2 separate regions of the Homo sapiens genome follow, and region 1 is linked to region 2. The links are contacts of gene promoters, found by promoter capture Hi-C in blood cells and fetal thymus (Javierre and others, 2016). All regions are on one chromosome and are shown on one strand. Each heading gives the region's core, a stretch centred on a gene start or on the middle of the fragment in contact. The rest is flanking DNA. Distances are from core to core; before and after follow the strand shown.

Region 1 (6,758 bases), core at 3,531-6,030, 95 kb after region 2:
CCATTTCCTTTACTCCTCCCTCCCTTCTCAACATACCTTCACCATCCATCACCATAAGTCCTTTATGTAGCTCTGGTTATAATTGACTCCTTCTCATTGGATAGGCTGTAGACCCAAAGCCCTGGATGATTATTTGGTGTAAGTTATGGAAGTTATTTTAATCCAGATCTTAGAATGTATGATATAGAATCAAGAGTTATCTTATGTGCGATGTATTTTTTTTTTCAAAGACATGAAAATACTCTGTTTAGCTTGAAGTAGTTTTTTTTTTTTTTTTTTTTGCTACTTATCACCATGTCACTTAATGTAATTCTATGTATTCACTTAGGGAATCCTGGAAGAATAACCCTGCCATCAAACATGTTTTCTCATGGACTCTGCAACAGGTCACTCGGCCCTGGCTGAGCCAGCATCTGGAAAGGGTACTTCCCGCATCATTGGTCATTTCAGATGACTATCAGACTGAGAACAAAATCCTGGGTGTACACTGTCTCCATCACATTGTGCTTAATGTGGTAAGCAACCTCTGGCTTGTCATCTGTGTTGACAGGACAGACTGAGTCATTCCTGGCTGTTCTTCATTTCTAGTAATGCTAAGTCATTCAACTTTACTTATTTGTATTTTCTCCTTATATTTTTCCTCTATCCACCTGGTAGAAGTTGTATCCTATAGGTAATGTAATAACTAAAATGATAATTATAGAAGAAACAGGAAGGCATGGGTCATTATCAAACTGAATAACCAGATGTTGAGAACTGGTCAACAGTTGATTTTCTTTCTTTCTTTTTTTTTTTTTTTTTTTTTGAGAGGGAGTCTCACTCTATCACCCAGGCTAGAGTGCAGTGGTGTGATCTTGTCCCACTGCAACCTCCACCTCTTAGGTTTAAGCAATTCTCCGCCTCTGCCTCCCGAGTAGCTGGGATTACAGGTGCGTGCCACCATGCCCAACTAATTTTTGTATTTTTAGTAGAGATGGGGTTTCACCATCTTGGCCAGGCCGGTCTTCAACTCCTGACCTTGTGATCCACCTGCCTCAGCCTCAGCCTCCCAAAGTGCTGGGATTACAGGCGTGAGCCACTGCACCTGGCCTACTTCCTTTCTTTCTTTCTTTTTTTTTTTTTTTTTTTGAGACATTATCACTCTGTCGCCTGGGCTGGAGTGTGATCTTGGCTCACTGCAGCCTCTGCCTCCCGGGTTCAAGTGATTCTCTTGCCTCAGCCTCCCTAGTAGCTGGGGATCCCTAGTAGCAGCCACCACACCCAGCTAATTTTTGTATTTTTAGTGGAAATGGGGTTTCACCATATTGGCCACGTCCGTCTCGAACTCCTGACCTCAGGTGATCTGCCTGTCTTGGGCTCCCATAGTGCTGGGATTATAGAGATGAGCCACCCCGCCCGGCCTACAGTTGAGTTTCAAGGACGAAAACAAAACAAACAAAATCAGAGCCTGAAAGGGACTATATCCAAATGTGGAAGCTATTACTCAAGGAAAAATTTTTTAAAAAAACTTTGTACTATGGAGCTTTTAAAATATACACAGAAGTAGAGAGAGTGGTATAATTAATCTCCATGTACCTGTAGGGGAGAGCCAGAGATCACCTCCAACCCTGCCCCCCTGCCCTTTTTTTTTTTTTTTTTTTTTTGAGGCAGAGTCTTGCTCTGTCGCTTACGCTGGAGGCTGGAGTGCAGTGGTGTGATCTTAGCTCACTGCAACCTCTGCCTCCCGGGTTCAAACGATTCTTGTGCGTCAGCCTCTAGAGTAGCTGGAATTACAGGAACGCACCACCATGCTCAGCTACTTTTTCTTTTTTTTAAATTTTTTGTAGAGGTAGGGTCTCACCATGTTGGCCAGGCTGGTCTTAAACTCCTGGCCTCAAGTGATCCACCAACCTCGGCCTCCTAAAGTGCTGGGATTGATTATAGGCGTGAGCCCGGCCTCAGCCCCCTTTTTATCTCTTAGTGGGCTCTTTTCCTGGATCTAGAAACCAAATTGACAACAGGCAGATTAGCAAGAGGAAACTATACACATTTTATTAGTTTTACGTGTACATGGGGATCTTCACAAGAGAGAGTATTCTGAAGAAGTGGCCAAAGCAATATGCTTTTATACTTTTTAGACTAAGAATGATAAATTTTTCGTCTTTTTTTTTTTTTTTTTTTTTTTTTTTTTTTTACTACCGCTAGCCACATTTTCTTTGTCTTGTCAGAAAAAATGACAGGACAAAGAAAATGTGGCTAGGGGCAGTACATTTTCCTTTTTTTTTTTTTTTTTGAGACAGGGTCTTGCTCTGTTACCCAGGCTAGAGTGCAGTGGCACAATCATAGCTCACTGCAGCCTCAACCCCCTGGGCTCAAGTGATCCTCCCACCTCAGCCTCCCAAGTAGCTGGGACTACAGGCATGCACCACCAGGCCAACTAATTTTTTAATTTTTTTTTTTGGTAGAGACAGGGTCTTGCTCTGTTGCCCAGGCTGCTGTCAAACTTGGCCTTAAGTGAGCCTCTCACCTTGGCTTTCCAAAGTGCTGGGGTTACAGGTGTGAGTCACCATGCTTGGCTCTAGGGTAGTCACTAGGAGATACATGGTTGTAGGTGGTGGGGGGATGGATAGGTGGAAGATAAAGGTTACTTTGTTCAGTTTATGTAGGTCCATTGCAGCCTTCAATTCCAAGTCTCTGTAAGGGCTGTTTTCTTACCCTGGTATGGAAAGCATACCCCACCCAGAGGAATCTTTTATCACTTGCTGCATGCAGAAAGAGACAAGTCAGCTCACCCTTTCTGAATCTACAGTTTCTGCAATATTTTCAACTCGAAACAATCATGCATATTTTGGGATGGCATGTTCTTCATGCTTCATACCCATAATCCAATTTCAAAGATAGTCAACATGTGCCAATCTTGGGAAACTATTCTTTTAATTTGACGATTTGTCTGGTTGCAGCCAGCTGCTGATTTGCTCCAGTATAACAGAGCCCAGGTCCTATACCATGCCATTTCCAACCACCTGTACACACCAGAGCACCACCTCATTCAGGTAATAGTATGATTTCTTCATAACTGGGTCTGGATTCTCTGAATTTGAGTAGAAGGTTGCATTGTGTGAGTAGTAGTAATTGAGAGACATTTTCCTGCCTTGGAAAGTGAGGATGATAACTAAAAGCGTTGCCAAGTTAAAAATATCTCAGCACCAAGCAGGCCTCCACATTCCTGAGTCTCCACAGATAAGACAGTGTTTTTTATTCATCTGAGTCAATTGTATATTACTTTGGGCTGGGCATGGTGGCTCACGCCTGTAATCCCAGCACTTTGGGAGGCTGAGGGAGGCAGATCACCTGAGGTCAGGAGTTCGAGACCAGCCTGGCTGACATGCCAAAACCCCATCTCTACTAAAAATACAAAAAAATTAGCCGGGCATGATGTTGTGCATCTGTAGTCCCTACTACTCAGGAGGCTGAGGCACAAGAATCATTTGAACCCGGGTGGCGGAGGTTGCAGTGAGCTGAGGTCACGTCACTGCACTCCAGCCTGGGTGACAGTGCGAGACTCCATCTCAATTTAAAAAAAAAAAAAAAGCCTGGCACTGTGGCTCACACCTGTAAATCCCAGCACTTTGGGAGGCCGAGGCGGGCGGATCACGAGGTCAGGAGATCAAGACCATCCTGGCTAATATGGTGAAACCCCGCCTCTACTAAAAATAGGAAAAATTAGCCAGGCGTGGTGGCACGTGTCTGTAGTCCCAGCTACTCGGGAGGCTGAGTCAGGAGAATCTCTTGAACCCAGGAGGTGGAGGTTGCAGTGAGCCGAGATCATGCCACAGCACTCCAGCCTGGGTGACAGAGCGAGACTCCATCTCAAAAAAAAAAAAAAAAAAAAGTACGTTACTTTGGAGGCAGCTTTATGTCTGAAAAAGTCTATTTTTATTAGTTAAGTGTTCTGTTTTGCCTTTTATCAGCACACACACTTGAAACTTCTTGCATGTTAGATATCGGAGTGTGATTTATTATTTCATCCAACAGACATGGTTCCAAGAGTAAATGAACGGATAGGGATTTTTGGCTTTAAGATAAGCTTTGGAAAAGACATTTATGTAAATACGAATATGTACTTAGATGTCTACATATATATACAGTACAGAATGATGACTGCATTAGAAGAGGTTTCTATAAAGCGCAGTGGGTGGCCAGGCGCGAGGGCTCACGCCTGTAATCCCAGCATTTTGGGAGGCCGAGGCAGGCAGACCACCTGAGGTTGGGAGTTCAAGACCAACCTGACCAACATGGAGAAACCCCGTTCTACTAAAAATGCAAAATTGCTGGGCATGGTTGCTCACATCTGTAATCCTAGCACTTTGAGAGGCTGAGGTGGGCGGATCACGAGGTCGGGAGATCGAGACCATCCTGGCTAACATGGTGAAATCCCATCTCTACTAAAAATGCAAAAAATTAGCCGGGCATGGTGGCACGTGTCTGTAGTCACAGCTACTCGGAAGGCTGAAGCAGGAGAATCACTTGAACCCAGGAGGCGGAGGTTGCGGTGAGCCAAGATCGCGCCACTGCACTCCAGCCTGGTGACAAAGTAACACTCCGTCTAAAAAACAAATGCAAAATTAGCCAGGCATGGTGGCGCATGCCTCTAATCCCAGCTACTCAGGAGGCTGAGGCAGGAAAATTGCTTGAACCCAGGAGGCAGAGGTTGCAGTGAGCCGAGATCATGCCATTGCCCTCCAGCCTGGGCAACGAGAGTGAAACTACATCTCAAAAAAAAAAGAAAAAAAAAAGGTGCAGTGGCTTTCAAGCAATAGGTAACTAACTAGGTTTGGGTTGACTTTAGGAGGTTTTGGGAAGGAGGTGATACTTAGCTTTATGAAGGATGAATAAGTAAAAGTTTCTTAGGAGGGAGAAAGAAACTACAAAGACAGAAGAAACAAGTTATATAAAATGAGAGGTGGAAGCAACGTTGTTTCTTTTTTATGCCTTACTTCCCTCCTTTCCCCCTCCCCACCCTGCTGCCTTTATTTTTATTTTATTTAATTTATTTTTTTGAGGTGGATCTTGCTCTGTCATGCAGGCCGGAGTACAGTGGCGCGATCTTGGCACATTGCAACCTTCGCCTCCCAGGTTCAAGCGATCCTTCTGCCTCAGCCTCCCTAGTAGCTGGGATTACAGGCAGGTGCCACCATGCCCAGCTAATTTTTGTATTTTTAGCAGAGACGGGGTTTTGCCATGTTGCCCAGCCTGGTCTCAAACTCCTGACCTCAAGTGATCCGCCCGCCTTGGCTTCCCAAGATACTAGGATTACAGGCATAGGCCACTGCACCCAGCCTCTTTTTCTTTTTACAGTATTTTAAATACTGGGTATTGAGAATCCAGATTGTAACAGCCGGAAAGGCTGGGGTTCTTAAGGTGGTAGAGAAAATAAATTTTAGAAAACCAAAACACCAAGAGAAAAACCAAAGGTCCCAGGAAAGTTAAAAGGAAGTACCTGAACCAAGCTTGTCCAAGCCATGGCCTGCATGCATCCCAAGATGGCTTTGCATGCAGCCCAACACAAATCTGTAAACTTTCTTAAAATGTTGTAAGATTTTTTTTGCATTTTTTTTTTAAAGCTCATCAGCTGTCATTAGTGTTAGTGTATTTTATATGTAGCCCAAGACAATTCTTCTTCCACTGTGACCCAGGGAAGCCAAAAGATTGGATACCCCTGGCCTAGGGATAAATCCTAGCACTTTAGGAAGCCAAGGCGAGTGGATCACTTGAGGCCAGGATGGTGAAACTTTGTCTCTACTAAAAAATAGAAAAGTTAGCCAAGTGTGGTGGTGCACACCTGTAGTCCCAACTAGTTAGGTGGCTGAGGCACGAGAATCGCTTGAGCCTGAGAAGCGGAGGTTGCAGTGAGCCAAGATTGCACCACTGTCCTTCAGCCTAGGTGACAGAGTGACTCTGTCTCACAAAAAAAAAAAAAAAAAAAAAAAAATGTGTAAATATCATGTATCACTAAGTCACTTAGACTTAGTGACATAGTAACAGTAGACTTAGATTCCTAAAATCTGGATTAAAGTCCCAGCTCTGCCATTTTTCCGATTTTATAAATTAGCAAAGAATGGTCCTGAGGAGAATGTATTGATTTGAGACTGTCAGATGGAGATTAAGAATGTAAAAAAGTTTGAAAATGTAAAGTAATGTGCAGTTCATATATGATTACTAGTATCTTAGAATTCTCTGGTATGGACCCTAAGGACGGTAGATTAATGAAGTTCTAGAGAAGTCAGTGAGTATTGTAAATGCAAATGGATGAACTATGCACCGTCCTTCCATTCCTTCCTCCTAGGCTGTGCTCCTGTGTCTGCTGGATTTATTCCCCATCCTGGAGAAAACCCTGCACTGGAAAGGAGATGGAGCTCGACCCACCACCCATTGTGATGAGGTCCTGCGGCTGATCCTGACCCACATGGAGCCAGAGCACCGCCTTCTTTTACGCAGGACCTACGCAAGAAACCTGCCGGCTTTCGTGAACAGGTGAGGCCCTGGGCTTTTATTTATTATTATTTTATACAGACAGGATCTTGCTATGTTGCTTGAGCTGCTCTCGAGCTCCTGGCCTCAAGCAATCCTCCCACCTCAGCCTCCCAAAGTACTGGGATTACAGGCATGAGCCACTGCACTGGCGTCATATTTTCTCTTTCATCTTTAGGTTGGGGATCCTAACTGTCCGGCACTTAAAGAGGCTGGAGAGAGTCATCATTGGTTATCTGGAGGTTTAT
Region 2 (6,810 bases), core at 341-2,840:
GCTCATTACAACCTCCACCTTCCATGTTCAAGTGATTCTCCCACCTCAGCTTCCCAAGTAGCTGGGACTACAGGCGCCTGCCACCACACCCGGCTAATTTTTGTTTTTTAGTAGAGATGGGGTTTCACCATGTTGGCCAGGCTGGTCTCGAACTCCTGACCTCAGGTGATCTGCCCACCCTGGCCTCCCAAAGTGCTGGGATTACAGGTGTGAGCCACCATGCCCTGCCTCTTTGTTTTAAATGACAAGGATTTCATTTCATATTTAAACTGCTGTAACACAAGGGACAAGGAAAAGTGAAAAGAATTTTGTTTCTCTAGAGAAAAAAAAAGGCTAGGCGGTACATTAAACTTGGATGGCAGCCTGTCATGGAACCTGGGGATTGGTCACATTGGCCAGTACTTTCTCTAACCCAGAGATCAAAACCTGATCTGCCACCACTGCTGGGAATGGAGTCAGTCCTGGTTTCAGCTATAGCTGACACCATCAGCTTCAATCTGAGCCAATCTACTTTCTGCCTTTCTTCTAGTAGACAGCGAGAGTTCAAGCCAGCCTAGTTCTCAACAGCATCATCTGCTAACATTTATCATCTCCCCCACTTCCCTCTCACACAATAAGGTAGGCACTGGGGAAGGTAGCACAGTCCCTGCCTTCAAAGTGCTTACAATCTTGGTGCTTACAATAAAAATGCCGATCAAGTGAATATGTCACTAGAAGGCAGCACATGAGAAATTAATATGAAGATGGCCGGACACAGTGGCTCATGCCTGTAATCTGAGCACTTTGAGAGAAGGTGGGTGGATCACCTGAGGTCAGGAGTTCAAGACCAGCCTGGTCAACATGGTGAAACCCCATCTGTACTAAAAAACAAACAAACAAAGAAAAAATATATACAAAAAATTAGCCAGGCATGGAGGCGGGCGCCTGTAATCCCAGCTACTTGGGAAGCTGAGGCAGGAGAATGGCTTGAACCTGGGAGGCGGGTTACAATGAGCCAAGATTGCGCCACTGCACTCCAGCCTGGGCGACAGAGTGGGACTGCATCTCAAAAAAGAAAGAAAGAAATATGAAGATGAATGTTTTGAGAGTCTGGGGAAAGTGAAGTTCACTATGAGCTGAGCTGGTGGAAATGGCTTCCTGAATGAAGGAAATCCATGGTGCCTTCTCCATTTTGTGGGAGGCACTGGTTTAGAGAGTGGTTAAGGACATAAACTGCAAAGCCAGGCTGCATTGTTTGAACAAGCTCAGCTCTGCCAGTAACGAGCTGTGTGACCAGGGCAGAGTACCTAGCCTCTCTGTGCCTAGGTCGCCTCCTCCCTAAAATTAGGACAATAGTAATTATGTCTCCCTCATAGACTTGTGGGGAGTATAAAATGCCTTAAGCTAAATGAAGCACATGGCATATAATGAAGGCTAATGGGGGCTTCGGACCATTGTTCTTTATGACACGGTTTCTTGAGACCGAGGCATGTACAAGCCAGTGCACAGAATCGTGTCTATGTAATTAGTTAATTCTGTCTGGGAGGAGTGTGTGTGTTTAAGACAGTGCCTGGGATGACTTATAATGTAATCTTTAGGCAAAACGCTTTGTAATTGGTGCAGCTCTGAGAACACACGCATGCATTCCAGGCGGTGCTGCTGGGGCTCGGCGGGGCCGTGTCTGGTCTGCAAGGCGCGCGGGCTCGTGGGGGGTTGGCTGGGGAGCCCACGCTGCCTGGCGACTCGGGCCACCGAATGTGAGACCGAGTCCCTTTATGTCACCAGCGCACACGCTGATTTGAACCCTGCTTCGACGTGTGTGTCATGGCTTAAAAATAGCTGCTAATCTGTCAACCTGTCTTGGGCAGAAACAGCGGCGGCGACAGCAGCAGGAGCGTCATGGCCGTGGCGCTGTCTGCGCCGGCGATCCGCCTTTCGGACTGAGGCCCAGCGCAGCGCTTGCAAAGAGGTAGAGGGGCTGCGGCGGGCCTTCGCCTTTTCAGCTGGCTCTCCACGCTGGGGAGAGGCGCCCAGCTAGGGGCGACGGGGGAGGGAGGGGACCGGGAAGCGGGCACCCGAGCCCAGCGAGCCAGCCTCTCTCTCCCGGGCGCCCTCCCTCCGCGCGCGGGGCCCGGCTGCCAGGCTGGCGAGGACTGGGGCGACAGCCATGGACCTGTTACAAAGGCGACCGCAGGCGGAGGGAGGGAGCGGCGGGCCAGGGCCCCTGGAGCCGACGGATGGGATTGGAGAATGCCCAGGGCTGTATCCCTGGACAGAAAGGGGCTTCTGCATCCCCCGGGAAAAACAGCCCCACGGAGATCCTTCTTAGACCTGGGCTCCTTCACGCTTCCCCCATCCCATTCATCATCTCGTAGACAGCAGACTCTCTAAGAGGAAAGGTTGTATTGCAATACAGTAATGGGGTCTTTAGGCCTGGGTGCAAAGGTAGAAGAAGATGATGGTGATAGTGATGGTGGTGATGGTGGTAGTGATGATGGTGATGGTGGTGGTGATGATGGCTGTAGTGCTATATTTCTGTGCTCCTTCCGGACCCAGCCATTGAAAACTCTCTCTCCCTAAACTCCCTAACATCCAATCTTCCCTCACCAATCCTGGTCCTAAAACCCCTGCTTCTAATGCCTTGTAAGTGCTTGGTTTCTCTTGGCACTGGAGCAAGGGAGAGCTGGGCCCTGTCTAGGGGTGTGAGATGGGGACAGAGCATGGGCAGGGACAAAGATGGCCTCTCACTGCTGGTCATAGAGTTGAAGTCCCCCTGGCAGGAGGCCAGGAAGGGAGTGGAAGGGGATTCTGCAGGCTCCAGGACCTCCTGCTTTCAAACAGGCAGGACCACAGGTGTGAGAGGATGGGGAGGGAGGGGGAAGGGGCCTTGCCATTGTTGCCTCCCTGCCTGAAGGTCCCAGGGCAAGCCTCAAACGCTGGTCCTTCCCAGCTCTGCAGCTCAACAGGTAATCTGAGACACACCTGCTAAGCCCCTCGTTATTGACCTCGTGTTTTGTAGGGTCACTTGACTCCAACAGCCATACGGTTGGTAATTCTAAGCCTCTGAGCCCCTGGACCTGGCAGGATCCCTCATTTTTCCCTTTCCTTCCTGCTTTCTAGGCCCCCACCACCCACCCCTGTCCCCCCTCCCCTCAAGACACACACAGACAAAACACTCCAACCCTGCGTCAATTCCCCCACCATCCACCTCTGTCACCCTCCCCTCAAGACACACACAGACAAAACACTCCAACCCTGCTTAGATTCAGAAATTCTCACATTAGAGCTGAGATCTGATCAGTAATTTCCTAATGCTGATCCAAGGAGGGTGGTTTGCCTGTTGTGCACATAGATTGGTGCCTTCTTCCATAAGCTCATGCATTCAGCAAGTATTTATTTTTTGCAAACTTACTCTTCCTCTTTATTGCTATTCTCCACTCACCCCATCCCACCCCCACCACACCCTTCCCATAGCAGGTTTATCTCTGAGGCAGTGGCAGGTCACGAAGGGGTTAAAGTCTAACTCTGGCACAGAGATGGCAGGCCTGACATGTGTCATGGCCTCAGCTGCTGTTGTCTCCCTGCTAATTCTCTTTGGATGGGTCTAAAGGTACCCCCAACCCCATCCCAGCTCCCTAGGCTCTCTGCCGATAGCCCCAGGCAGATGAGACTCAGATTCCAGCTGGCAAGATCCCCAGCAGTGGGGACAACCACCCAAGTGCCGTGTGTGTGTGTGTGTGTGTGTGTGTGTATGCGTGCTGGCAGTGGGGGTGGGGTGATGAAGCTGAAACCTAGCAGCTGGGCAGCTCCCTCTCCCCGTAAACAAGGACATGTGACTCTCCCACCTCGTTTCGTGGCAGAGCCAAAGAGCTGAGCAAAAGGAGCTGCTGCAGCTTGAAGAAAAAGCCACCCCTGAAGGCTCCTGCCAGAGCCAGGCTTACCTTCTCTCCCTCGAGAATCTTCTCCCGAAGGACCAGCCCAGGGAAGGGAAGCAGCTGCTCTGGACTCACTCAAGTGTGTCTCACACCCCTTCCTCTTCCAGCAGCAGCTACCTGGCAACTGAACCCATCATCACCACAGCCACTCCTGCAGCTGCCACGGTTTCTGCCACCTCTAAGATGTGCCCTGGTAACTGGCTTTGGGCTTCTATGACTTTTATGGCCCGCTTCTCCCGGAGTAGCTCAAGGTCTCCTGTTCGAACTCGAGGGACCCTGGAGGAGATGCCAACCGTTCAACATCCTTTCCTCAATGTCTTCGAGTTGGAGCGGCTCCTCTACACAGGCAAGACAGCCTGTAACCATGCCGACGAGGTCTGGCCAGGCCTCTATCTCGGAGACCAGTATGTATCGGGCAGACTGGGCCCACGGTAGAGCGTGTGTGTGTTTGTGTGTGTAAGAAAGGAGAAGGGTGGCAGACAGGTATGCAGTGGTGTCATTGGTTCCTGGTTGAAGATTGAGGGGATAGGGCACATGGGCCAAGAGTAGAGGCTGCAGGTTTGGGAGAGTTTGGCCAGGATTATTGAAATGCCCAACTCTGGCCAGTCACAGTGTCTCTTGCCTGTGATCCCAGCAGTTTGAAAGGCTGAGGCAGGAGTATCTAGAGTACAGGAGTTCTAGACCAGCCTGAGCAACAAAACCAGACCCCATCTCTACTTATTATTTTAAAATAAAATAAATAAAATAAAAATACCCAAGTCTGGACAGAAAGACTCTGTTCCAGTAATAATATCATTCATGTATCACATATTTATTATTACATGCCAGTGCTACATACCAGGCACAATAGATGACTTCTCTGACCTTCCATCTATTGTGCAATGTCTCTGGGAAAAGGCAGCCACTGGAAGCCAGGAGCAGTAGGTAGGAAGCTGCAGTGGTTTCTCTTGAGACCAAGCAAAGCGGCAGTGCCTACAGAGATTCTGCAATTTGAAGGCTATGGAGAGAAAAACATCAAAGGAAGAGCCATCCCCACTTCTCTCCCTCAAAGTTATACAAGGATTTCTTTTGCTTCTTTGGTTTGTTTTGGTTTTGGTTTCTTTCTTTTATTTTTTTTTGGAGACAGTATCACTCTGTCACCCAGGCTGGAGTGCAGTGGCGCGATCTTGGTTCTCTGCAACCTCCACCTCCCGGGTTCAAGCGATTCTCCTGCCTCAGCCTCCAGAGTAGCTGGGACTACAGGCACACACCGCCTTGCCCGGCTAATTATTTTTTTGTATTTTAGTAGAGACGGGGTTTCACCGTGTTGCCCAGGCTGGTCTTGAGCTCCTGAGCTCAGGCAGTCCACCTGTCTCGGCCTCTCAAAGTGCTAGGATTATAGGTGTGAGCCACCGTGCCCAGCATTGTTGTTGTTTTTGAGACAGGGTCTCACTGTTGCCCAGGCTGGAGTGCAGTAGCCCAATCTCAGCTCACAGCAAACTCCGCCTCCCGGGTTCAAGCAATTCTCCTGCCTCTGCCTCCCAAGTAGCTGGGCTTACAGACGCCCATCACCACACACAGCTGATTTTTGTATTTTTAGTAGAGACGGCGTCTAGCCATGTTGGCCAGGCTGATTTTGAACTCCTGGCCTCAAGTGATCCACCTGCTTCAGCCTCCCAAAGTGCTGGGATTACAAGCATGAGCCACCGTGCCTGGCCTACAAGGATTTTTTTCACACACATTATCTCTCTTAATCTTCACAACAGCCCTGTGAGATAGGTATCACTCTCCCTGGGTTACAGATGAGGAGACTGAAGCTCAGAGAAGTTGTGCCTGGCCAAGGTCACACGGGTTGTAAGTAGCAGAGCCCGGGCTTGGAGGCTCAAGTTCAGTGCTCTTTCTGCTTAAGGAGTTTGCACTGGACAGGGCAACTCAGTTTGCCCTGAGATATGACTGTGGTGCCCAGGGGTGTCTGCCACCAAGCTGAGGGGTCTGGGCCGGATGAACACCTGAAGGTGACGTCATAAAACAGGGTAAATGTGGCCGGGCATGGTGGCTCACATCTGTAATCCCAGCACTTTGGGATACTTAGGCGGATGGATCACGAGGTCAGGAGTTCAAGACCAGCCTGGCCAAGATAGTGAAACCCCGTCTCTACTAAAAATACAAATATTAGCCTGGCATGGTGGTGGGCACCTGTAATCCCAGCTACTCGGGAGGCTGAGGCAGAGAATTGCTTGAACCCGGGAGGCAGAGGTGGCAGTGAGCCGAGATCGCGCCACTGCACTCTAGCACTCCAGCCTAGGTGACAGAGCAAGACACCATCTCAAAAAAAAAAACAAACAACAACAACAACAACAAAAAAAAACACAGTCACAGTAAATGTGAGCCATGGAATATCTGGCAAAAACACAAGACGGTTCTGGGTGTCAACAAGAGTAGAGACATAGGGGAGTTAGGTGTGGAAGTGGATGTCAGAACCATACTATCTCAGAGTGAGCAGGACCGATGAAATGAGCAGAACAATCTGCCTGACATTCATTTCCCCTCTGCAGCATCCATGGCTACATGGCCATCTCCTCTTTCTGCCTGAATACCCCAGGGACAGGAAAACCACTCTCTCTCGAGGTTCTCCACCCTTTCCTCAGCTAGACTCCACCATTAGAATGTACTTCCTTGTATGAAATTGAAATCAGCTGGCCAGGCACAGTGGCTCACGCCTATAATCCCAGCACTTTGGGAGGCCTAGATAGGTGGATCACAAGGTCAGGAGTTCGAGACCAGCTTGGCCAACACGATGAAATCCCATCTCTACTAAAAATACAAAAATTAGCCGGGCATGGTGGCAGGCACCTGTAATCCCAGCTACTCAGGAGGCTGAGGCAGGAGATTCGCTTGAACCTGGGAGGCAGAGGTT

What was found. Contacts are between HindIII fragments. The CHiCAGO score rates a contact against its expected background, and 5 or more counts as called.
Region 1: a contact is called between a fragment that was not itself captured here and the fragment with the promoter of DUSP26 in region 2, in 7 of 17 cell types (non-activated CD4 T cells, M0 macrophages, monocytes and 4 more). The highest score is 11.1, in non-activated CD4 T cells.

What each region holds. Positions count from the first base shown.
Region 1 is chr8:33,503,503-33,510,260 of GRCh38, reverse strand. It overlaps TTI2 (TELO2 interacting protein 2), which reads left to right. Exons shown (of 8, transcript NM_001102401.4): 3 at 329-515; 4 at 2,940-3,032; 5 at 6,326-6,513; 6 at 6,689-6,758. Among named protein-coding and RNA genes, the nearest start is that of TTI2, 6.3 kb to the left of the region's middle. The HindIII fragment of the contact is 1,423 bases long and covers 4,069-5,491 here.
Region 2 is chr8:33,594,803-33,601,612 of GRCh38, reverse strand. It overlaps DUSP26 (dual specificity phosphatase 26), which reads left to right and starts at 1,590. Exons shown (of 4, transcript NM_024025.3): 1 at 1,590-1,948; 2 at 4,022-4,318. The coding sequence starts at 4,098. RefSeq lists an enhancer at 3,424-3,924. The HindIII fragment of the contact is 17,028 bases long and covers 1-6,810 here.